2 separate regions of the Homo sapiens genome follow, and region 2 is linked to region 1. The links are contacts of gene promoters, found by promoter capture Hi-C in blood cells and fetal thymus (Javierre and others, 2016). All regions are on one chromosome and are shown on one strand. Each heading gives the region's core, a stretch centred on a gene start or on the middle of the fragment in contact. The rest is flanking DNA. Distances are from core to core; before and after follow the strand shown.

What was found. Contacts are between HindIII fragments. The CHiCAGO score rates a contact against its expected background, and 5 or more counts as called.
Region 2: a fragment that was not itself captured here is called in contact with the fragment with the promoter of PIANP in region 1 in 10 of 17 cell types (activated CD4 T cells, naive CD4 T cells, naive CD8 T cells and 7 more); the score reaches 9.8 in activated CD4 T cells.

Annotation. Positions count from the first base shown.
Region 1 is chr12:6,698,349-6,702,082 of GRCh38, forward strand. It overlaps PIANP (PILR alpha associated neural protein), which reads right to left and starts at 2,467. Exons shown (of 5, transcript NM_001244014.2): 1 at 2,266-2,467. RefSeq lists an enhancer at 1,247-1,748. The HindIII fragment of the contact is 12,862 bases long and covers 1-3,734 here.
Region 2 is chr12:6,775,541-6,779,085 of GRCh38, forward strand. It overlaps LAG3 (lymphocyte activating 3), which reads left to right. Exons shown (of 8, transcript NM_002286.6): 5 at 1-8; 6 at 1,724-1,966; 7 at 2,251-2,381; 8 at 2,704-2,915. The coding sequence ends at 2,850. Among named protein-coding and RNA genes, the nearest start is that of LAG3, 4.8 kb to the left of the region's middle. RefSeq lists enhancers at 2,774-3,424, 3,173-3,222, 3,425-3,545. The HindIII fragment of the contact is 5,544 bases long and covers 1-3,545 here.

The DNA of each region.
Region 1 (3,734 bases), core at 1,217-3,716:
CTCTGGCTTCTCTGATTTCCCTTCTTCTCACTTCCTCTGCCCACAGCTCCAGGCTTTTCTTGGATCTTAATTTAGAGCCAAGAACCTTGTGATTCCTTGAGCACCTACCGCTAGGGAGGGAGTCTGAGGGTAGGGGGAGGGATGGGGAAGTCAATCTGAGCAAGCCAGTGAGTGTGTGTACGTGCAGGGGGGCCCTTCCAGCCCTCCCAGCCCTCCCACCCCTCTGGCAGTGCCAGGCATTTGTCTTATGATTAGCCCCAGGAGTCTGCATCTTCAGGAGAAAGGAATGAAGAGCTGGAGGGATGGAAGGAAAGAGACAGAAAGAGAGAGGTGAGTGGGAGAAAAACTACAGAATATAATTTTTGCTCTTAATGTTTAATCATCCAAGTGCATAGGTGCCCTCTGAAGGGAGGTGGAGTCAGGAAGAAACCACCCCCTCAAATGTGGCTCTCCTGGGTAAAGAATCCTGGGAAAATCGGGATGGTTGGTTTTGAAAGAGAAAGGGTGTGTTCTCAGAGCTGAGGGTGGTGGATCCAGGAGGGGCAGGCTCCCCAGAGGGAGTGAAGATAGGATACCCGTTTCCTGTGGATTCTGGGTCTAAATCTGCCCAATGGGCCAGACGCAGTGGCTCACGCCTGTAATCCTAGCACTTTGGGAAGCCAAGGCGGGTGGATCACCTGAGATCAGGAGTTCGAGACTAGCTTGGCCAACATAGTGAAACCCCGTGTCTACTAAAAATACAAAAATTAGCCGGGGGTAGTGGTGGGCGCCTGCAATCCCAGCTATTCAGAGGGCTGAGGCAGAAGAATCCCTTGAACCTGGGAGGCGGAGGTTGCAGTGAGCTGAGATCACACCATTGCACTCCAGTCTGGGCAACAAGAGCGAGACTCCGACTCAAAAAATAAAATAAATAAATCTGCCCATTGAATCTTCCCAGAGAACAACAAGGGAACAAGATGGGAAAGTCACGGGAAGGGCGTGGGGAAGCAGGCAGTGGGAGAGATGGGAAGGGGTGAAGGGCTGGGAGATGGAAGGCTGGTTAAGAGTGAGAGAGGAGAAATGTGAAGAGGAAGCTGGCCTGGAGTGCAGGGTGAGAGAGAGCAGGCAGTCCTGAAAAAGAGAGAACTGGGAAGAGAGGAGGAGAGTGGGTACAGAAGACTCGAACTGTGGAGGATGCCGAAGGGAGGAAAGGATGAGAGAAAAGGTCAGGGAGGGGAAACGGAGAGGATGAAGGGGTCACAGGTGCAGGGGAAGAAGGGGCAGGAGGAGAAGGAGAGAGCGGTCCAGGCAGGACAGCCAGAGGAGTGGAGAGTAAGGGGATGGGAGAAAAGGGGGGAAAGCCCAGGATGGGGAGAAAGGAAGTGGGGAAGGAGAGAACATAAATGCTTAAGGAAAAATGACACGAGGAACGGGCTGGGAAGCAGAGGCGGGAGCAGCAAAGATGGAGGAGTTCGGAATTGCTCCCCCAAATGTAAAGGGATGTGGAGATACCGAAAGACATAGGGATGGGGGCATGGTGGGAAGAAGGGAGAGAGAGGGGAAAGGAAGAAAGCTAGAGGGAGGGAGCGAGGCGTGTAGAGCGAACCAGTGAAGCGGAGAAGGGCTCCCAGGGCGCATCTGTGGCCAGCTGACTCTAGGACTATCGCCCCTCCGCCTGTGCATCCCCACCCCCAGCCAGCGCCAACCCAGTCCCTGGGCCCCGCACAGCTTCAGCCGCCCCCTCCAGGAAGCCCGCAGTCCCCGGGCTGGCGCGCCACCCCCACCCCTCTCCCAGCTTCTCACCGACCTGTTGTGCGCAGGAGACGAGCTGGGGGTGGGGCAGGAGCCTCGGGGTGCGGGAGCCGGGCCCCAGCCCCAGCGTGGCCCCCATCCCACCCATCCCGCAGGCCCGCACTCCCCGCACAGGGCTGGAGAGCGGCGAGAGTGGGGGGAGACGAGGAAAAGGAGGTCGGCGAAGGGACCCCGAGGCAGGGAGTGCCGAGAGCGGACTGGGGACCCGAAGCAGGAGACTGCGCGGAGCCGCCCGCCGAGCCGAGGCGGGATGGAGGCAGCCGCGGGGACGGGGACGGCTGCGCCAGGGAGGGCGGGAGCGAGCCAGGACCGCGGAGGGATGGAGAGCCCTTCGGGGAAGGGGCGCTGGGAGGCTGGAGGCCTTGTCCCGGGCGAGGGACCGCGTCGGGAGGGGCAGGAGGCGCAGGGCGCGGAGCCGGGAAGGGCAGGGCCGGGCTCCCCGCGGGTGGGGGCGTGGGGGTCCCTCTCACTCACCTGCATGCTTGGCGCGGCGGCGCGACGACTGCGGGCGCTCGGGACTGAGCGGGGCTGGGGGGTCGCAGGAGCGGGCGGGGTGCGGGGCATGGTGGGGAGGTTTGGCCCGCGGCAGGGCGCTGGAGCGGGTGGGGGGCGGGCGCCTGGGGCGCGGGGCGGCGGCGGTGGGAGATGCTCGCCTCGGCTCGGCTCGGCTCGGCTCGGCTGGGCTCGGCGCGGCGGCTGGGACCGCTCCGTCTCCGTCTCCGCCTCCCCCCCGCGCCGGAGGCCACGCACGGTTTAACCCTCCTGCTGCCGCGCTGCAGGAGTCAAGCCAGGCTATGTCCCAGGTGGAGGGCTGAAGAGGCTGGCAGGGTCCAGCGACCGTCCGCTTCCCTGGGTTCTGATGGCAGTCTCCCCACCTCCTTCACCCCAACTCCAGGGACACCCATGGTCGCCTCAGTCAGTTTCTGAGATTCTGAGTCACTCAATGCTCTGCATTCCCAACTTTGTTCTTTTGTATTGTGTTTTGTAGAGATGAGGTCTCGCTGTGTTGCCCAGCCCGGTCTCGAACGCCTGGGCTCAAGCGATCCTTCCCGCTCAGCTTCCCGGAGTGCTGGGATTACAGGCGTGAGTCACCACTGCCTGTCCCCCAACTTGGTTTTGCCCGCTGTAGAAAGTGCCTGAGGTCAAGGCTGGGGGCAAGGGGTGGAGGAAAGGACTGGGGAGGAAGGACCTTGCACCATCTTTGGATTATCCCCACAGCTTGATCCCCTATTTCACTCTGGCCCTGCTACCATGCATTAAGTGGATCACGTCGAAATTCCTGGGCTTTTCCAGCACTGGAATACCTAGACTCCGTGCTGTGACTTACAAGACCCTATATAACCTGGCTCTTAGGTGGCTCTCTGATTGCCTTTCCTAAAGATTTCTATGCTTCAGCCACATGGGACCTGGTGGATTTCCTGGTTGGAGACAGGTTTAACCTGCCTCAGGGCCTTTGCACTTGCTGTTCCCTCAGTAATACATTTCCCTGGCTTTTCACAATGACTTACTGTTTTCATTCCAGTCTCACTTAGATCCAACGCCTTCTGGGAGGCCTTCCCTAATGTCTCTATCAAAAGTAGCCTCTCCTGCCCCTTCTCCCACCACCTGGATCCCATCCCTCTCTACCACACTACGCTGTTTTTCCTCAGGGCACTTCCAGGACACCACACTCTCCTCATTTCCCTCCAACCTCACTGACTGTTCTTAGTCTTCCTCGGGTGACCTCTAAATGTTGGAGCCTCCTAGGGCTTAGTCCTTGGCCATTCTCTCTTTCCACATTCTCTGTCCAGTGATCTCATCCGGTCCCAGGGCTTAAATACTATGTAAATGTCAGTGAGTCCTAAATTTATATCCAGAGCGCCAGACTCATTTATCCGACAGCCTACTTGACATCTCCACTTGGATGTCTAATAGCCATGCAAAGCTAACTTGACTAAAATAGA
Region 2 (3,545 bases), core at 735-3,234, 77 kb after region 1:
CATCACAGGTCAGCCTCAGGTGGGAAAGGAGTAGCTGCCCTCCCAGGGTAGAAAGGACAGGGAGGAAGGGCTGGCAGGGCAAAGACTAGGCAAACCCACCCTGTGATGCCAGGCCACTGGGCACAAGTTCCAGAGCCTGCCCATCTCGGCCCCCACTTTTCTCACCCCCATAATAAAGAAACGAAACTGAAAATCTCCTCTTGAGTCACAAGATAAAAGTTCCACCGTTCTCTATGGGACTCCCCTGCTCTCAATTGGCGGGAGGGTCTGGGAAGTTAGAAGGAAAGGTGACAAAAATTCTGAATGGTTCGAAAGAGGTAGAATATATTTCTAGAATCCTTGTCTACTTTGCAGCCAGGGCTTGGGTTAGAGTTGCAGGAAGTGGCCTGGATTTGGGAGGAGTGAATAAATCCGTCCCTTGGTCAGCAAATATTTACTGAGCAAGGGTTTTCCAAGACAGTATAAAACAAACACAGAAAAAAGAATACTCAGAGAGTATGTGTTGACTGGTTGATAACTATCGGCCATGACAGATTAGCCATGTCTGCAGCACGCACCTGCGGCCACTCAGTAGTAGCACCCCACGGCAGGTGCTTAATAATGTATAGAGATTGAATGAATACGTGAACATGCTAATGGATAATACATCTCCTGAAGGCCAATCCTGAGTTTTCACTTGCTTTCTGGATACCTCTAACTAGATGTTATACCACCTCTCAGCCGCCTTACCCTGAACCCCAGCTTTTTCTCCCACCAATCCCCTTGCTGACTCAGCCTGTCAGTAATCCACTGGTATCCATCCACCTCGAAACCTGGCCTCCTCCTCTCTACATCCCATCAGTCATCAAAGTCCACCAGTTCTTTCTGTCCAATGCCCTCTTGAAGGTCAACTGTTTTATGTAGACGGCTCAATGAGAGAGATACTGTTACCCCGAAGACTTTCTCAAAACAGCTGGGAAGTGCCAGACTCTGGGTCTAAACTCAGGTGTCTGCATCACCAAATCACTCTCCAGGACACTACTCAGATGCCCTTCACCCTTTGTCTCCTCCCACCCACCCATCTCTCACTTTACAACTTGGAGAATGCTCTGTCTCTAGATGAATGGGTCAGTTCCCTGTTCTCTATACCTTCAGAAAGGGGGATGATGTTCATTCAGGGGGCACCACAAGGCAGGGGACACTGATGTGAGCCGCATCATGGAAGTTCCAAAATTGTGAAGTAGATGGGGGTCAGCTCATCTGACTGATTTTGAGGGTTCTGAGCATTTGAGTAGAAAGTAATGTAAAAGAATCTGTAATAGTATTTATTCTGTGGTCTGCCAGGGCCAGTTTGAGTGTGAAGGCAGTAGGGAGCCTGGAAATGTTTTGAGCAGGGGAGGGAGCTGACTAGAGCATTGTCTGAATAAGATAAATGTGGCCGGCAGGGCATGATGGCTCACACCTGTAATCCCAGCACTTTGAAAGGCTGAGACGAGAGGAGCACTTGAGTCCAGGAATTCCAGACTAGCCTGGGCAACATGGTGAAAACGCATCTGTATACAATTTAATAAAAAAATAAATAGAAAGAAAAAGATGAACGTGGCCATGACCCATGATGTCCTTCCCCAACCTCCCCTGGCCAGAACCCAAGTGAGTGCAGGGTGATTGAGACTTGGGGTTCAACCTGTGATATCACGTAAGGGGGGCAGAATCCCAAAAGATCTCTTCCTTCTACTCTTTTCAGTGACTCCCAAATCCTTTGGGTCACCTGGATCCCTGGGGAAGCTGCTTTGTGAGGTGACTCCAGTATCTGGACAAGAACGCTTTGTGTGGAGCTCTCTGGACACCCCATCCCAGAGGAGTTTCTCAGGACCTTGGCTGGAGGCACAGGAGGCCCAGCTCCTTTCCCAGCCTTGGCAATGCCAGCTGTACCAGGGGGAGAGGCTTCTTGGAGCAGCAGTGTACTTCACAGAGCTGTCTAGCCCAGGTCCGAGGCCCCAGAATGCCAGGACCCAAACGCCACAGCAATAATCTTTATCCTCCTTCCAGAACAGCCCCTGCCACCCCCATCCCAGCGCTTTTCTTTCCAGTCAGGGACCTGATCTCTGGCTTTTGCCTAGGGTTGACCCGTTTCCGCCACTGATCAGCTGAATGACCCTGGGACAAGTCCCTTAAACTCTCTGGATCTCATTGCATCTGTAAAGTCTGAGAGAATGACAAAGTGTCCTTTCTAGTCCTGACCCTATGCCTCATCCTGTACTTTCTCCATAGGTGCCCAACGCTCTGGGAGAGCCCCAGGTGCCCTCCCAGCAGGCCACCTCCTGCTGTTTCTCATCCTTGGTGTCCTTTCTCTGCTCCTTTTGGTGACTGGAGCCTTTGGCTTTCACCTTTGGAGAAGACAGGTGAGCCAGGGACATGGCAACCCCGCCCCCCAGCAGCTCCCGCTCTTCCATCCTCAGAGTGCTGATGGCACCCCTTCCTCAGGAAGGTGACCAAATGGGACCCTGAACTTGCCCTCAGAGCCCCCCTTCTTCATAAGCCTCTCACTCCAGGGATGGCTTGTGCCTGGGTAGGCTGGAAGGGGGGTTGGGAGAAAGCCAGGACCAGATGGGGAGGGCAGGGGCGCTGAGAAAAAATAGAGGGACTCAGTGTCCCTCCTCATCCGCTTCCCTTCATCCTTCTCCTCCTTCCGCCCTCCGTCTCTCTCTCCATCTCTTCTCACAGTGGCGACCAAGACGATTTTCTGCCTTAGAGCAAGGGATTCACCCTCCGCAGGCTCAGAGCAAGATAGAGGAGCTGGAGCAAGAACCGGAGCCGGAGCCGGAGCCGGAACCGGAGCCCGAGCCCGAGCCCGAGCCGGAGCAGCTCTGACCTGGAGCTGAGGCAGCCAGCAGATCTCAGCAGCCCAGTCCAAATAAACTCCCTGTCAGCAGCAAGCCTGAGTCTGGCTCTTTCTTGTCCAAGTGAAGGTTCCCGTCTCTCCCCAGCCTCTGAGGGCTCCCTTCTCCCACCCTAGCCTCCTAACCTACTTTCCCCAGCCAGCCTCCCTCACCTTCCCCTTTTCTGTTTCTGGCTGCTTCGTGTTTCTTTCTTGGTCTCTCTCTCTCTTGCGCTCACTCTCTCTTTCTCTCTCCTGGGTAATCATTTCTCTGAAGCTCCCCCGAAAAAGCCCTTGCCCCTTGCCTCCGCAGCTCTCTCCTCCGTCCTTCCACCCACCTTCCACCCACAGTGCGCTGGCTGCCCTGGTTTCCTTGATATTTTTGTCCTTTGGGTCCACCCCACCCCACACTCAGCTGCACTTCAGCACTTGTCCTTGGCCCTCCGGCTGCAGCAGATGCGCACATATGCTCGCGCGCACGTGCACACACACATGCACACACACGCGCGCGCGCACACGCACACACACACACACACACACACACGCGCGGCGCGCAGAGGACTGCCTTGTCAAGTCTTCCAGGAGATCCGGTCTGGAAACCTCTCTGGGCAGCCGGCTGGGGCTCCTACCTCTGCCCCACCCCCCACGTTCCTCAGCCCTTGGAGGCTTTTCTGGTCCCAGGCATGAG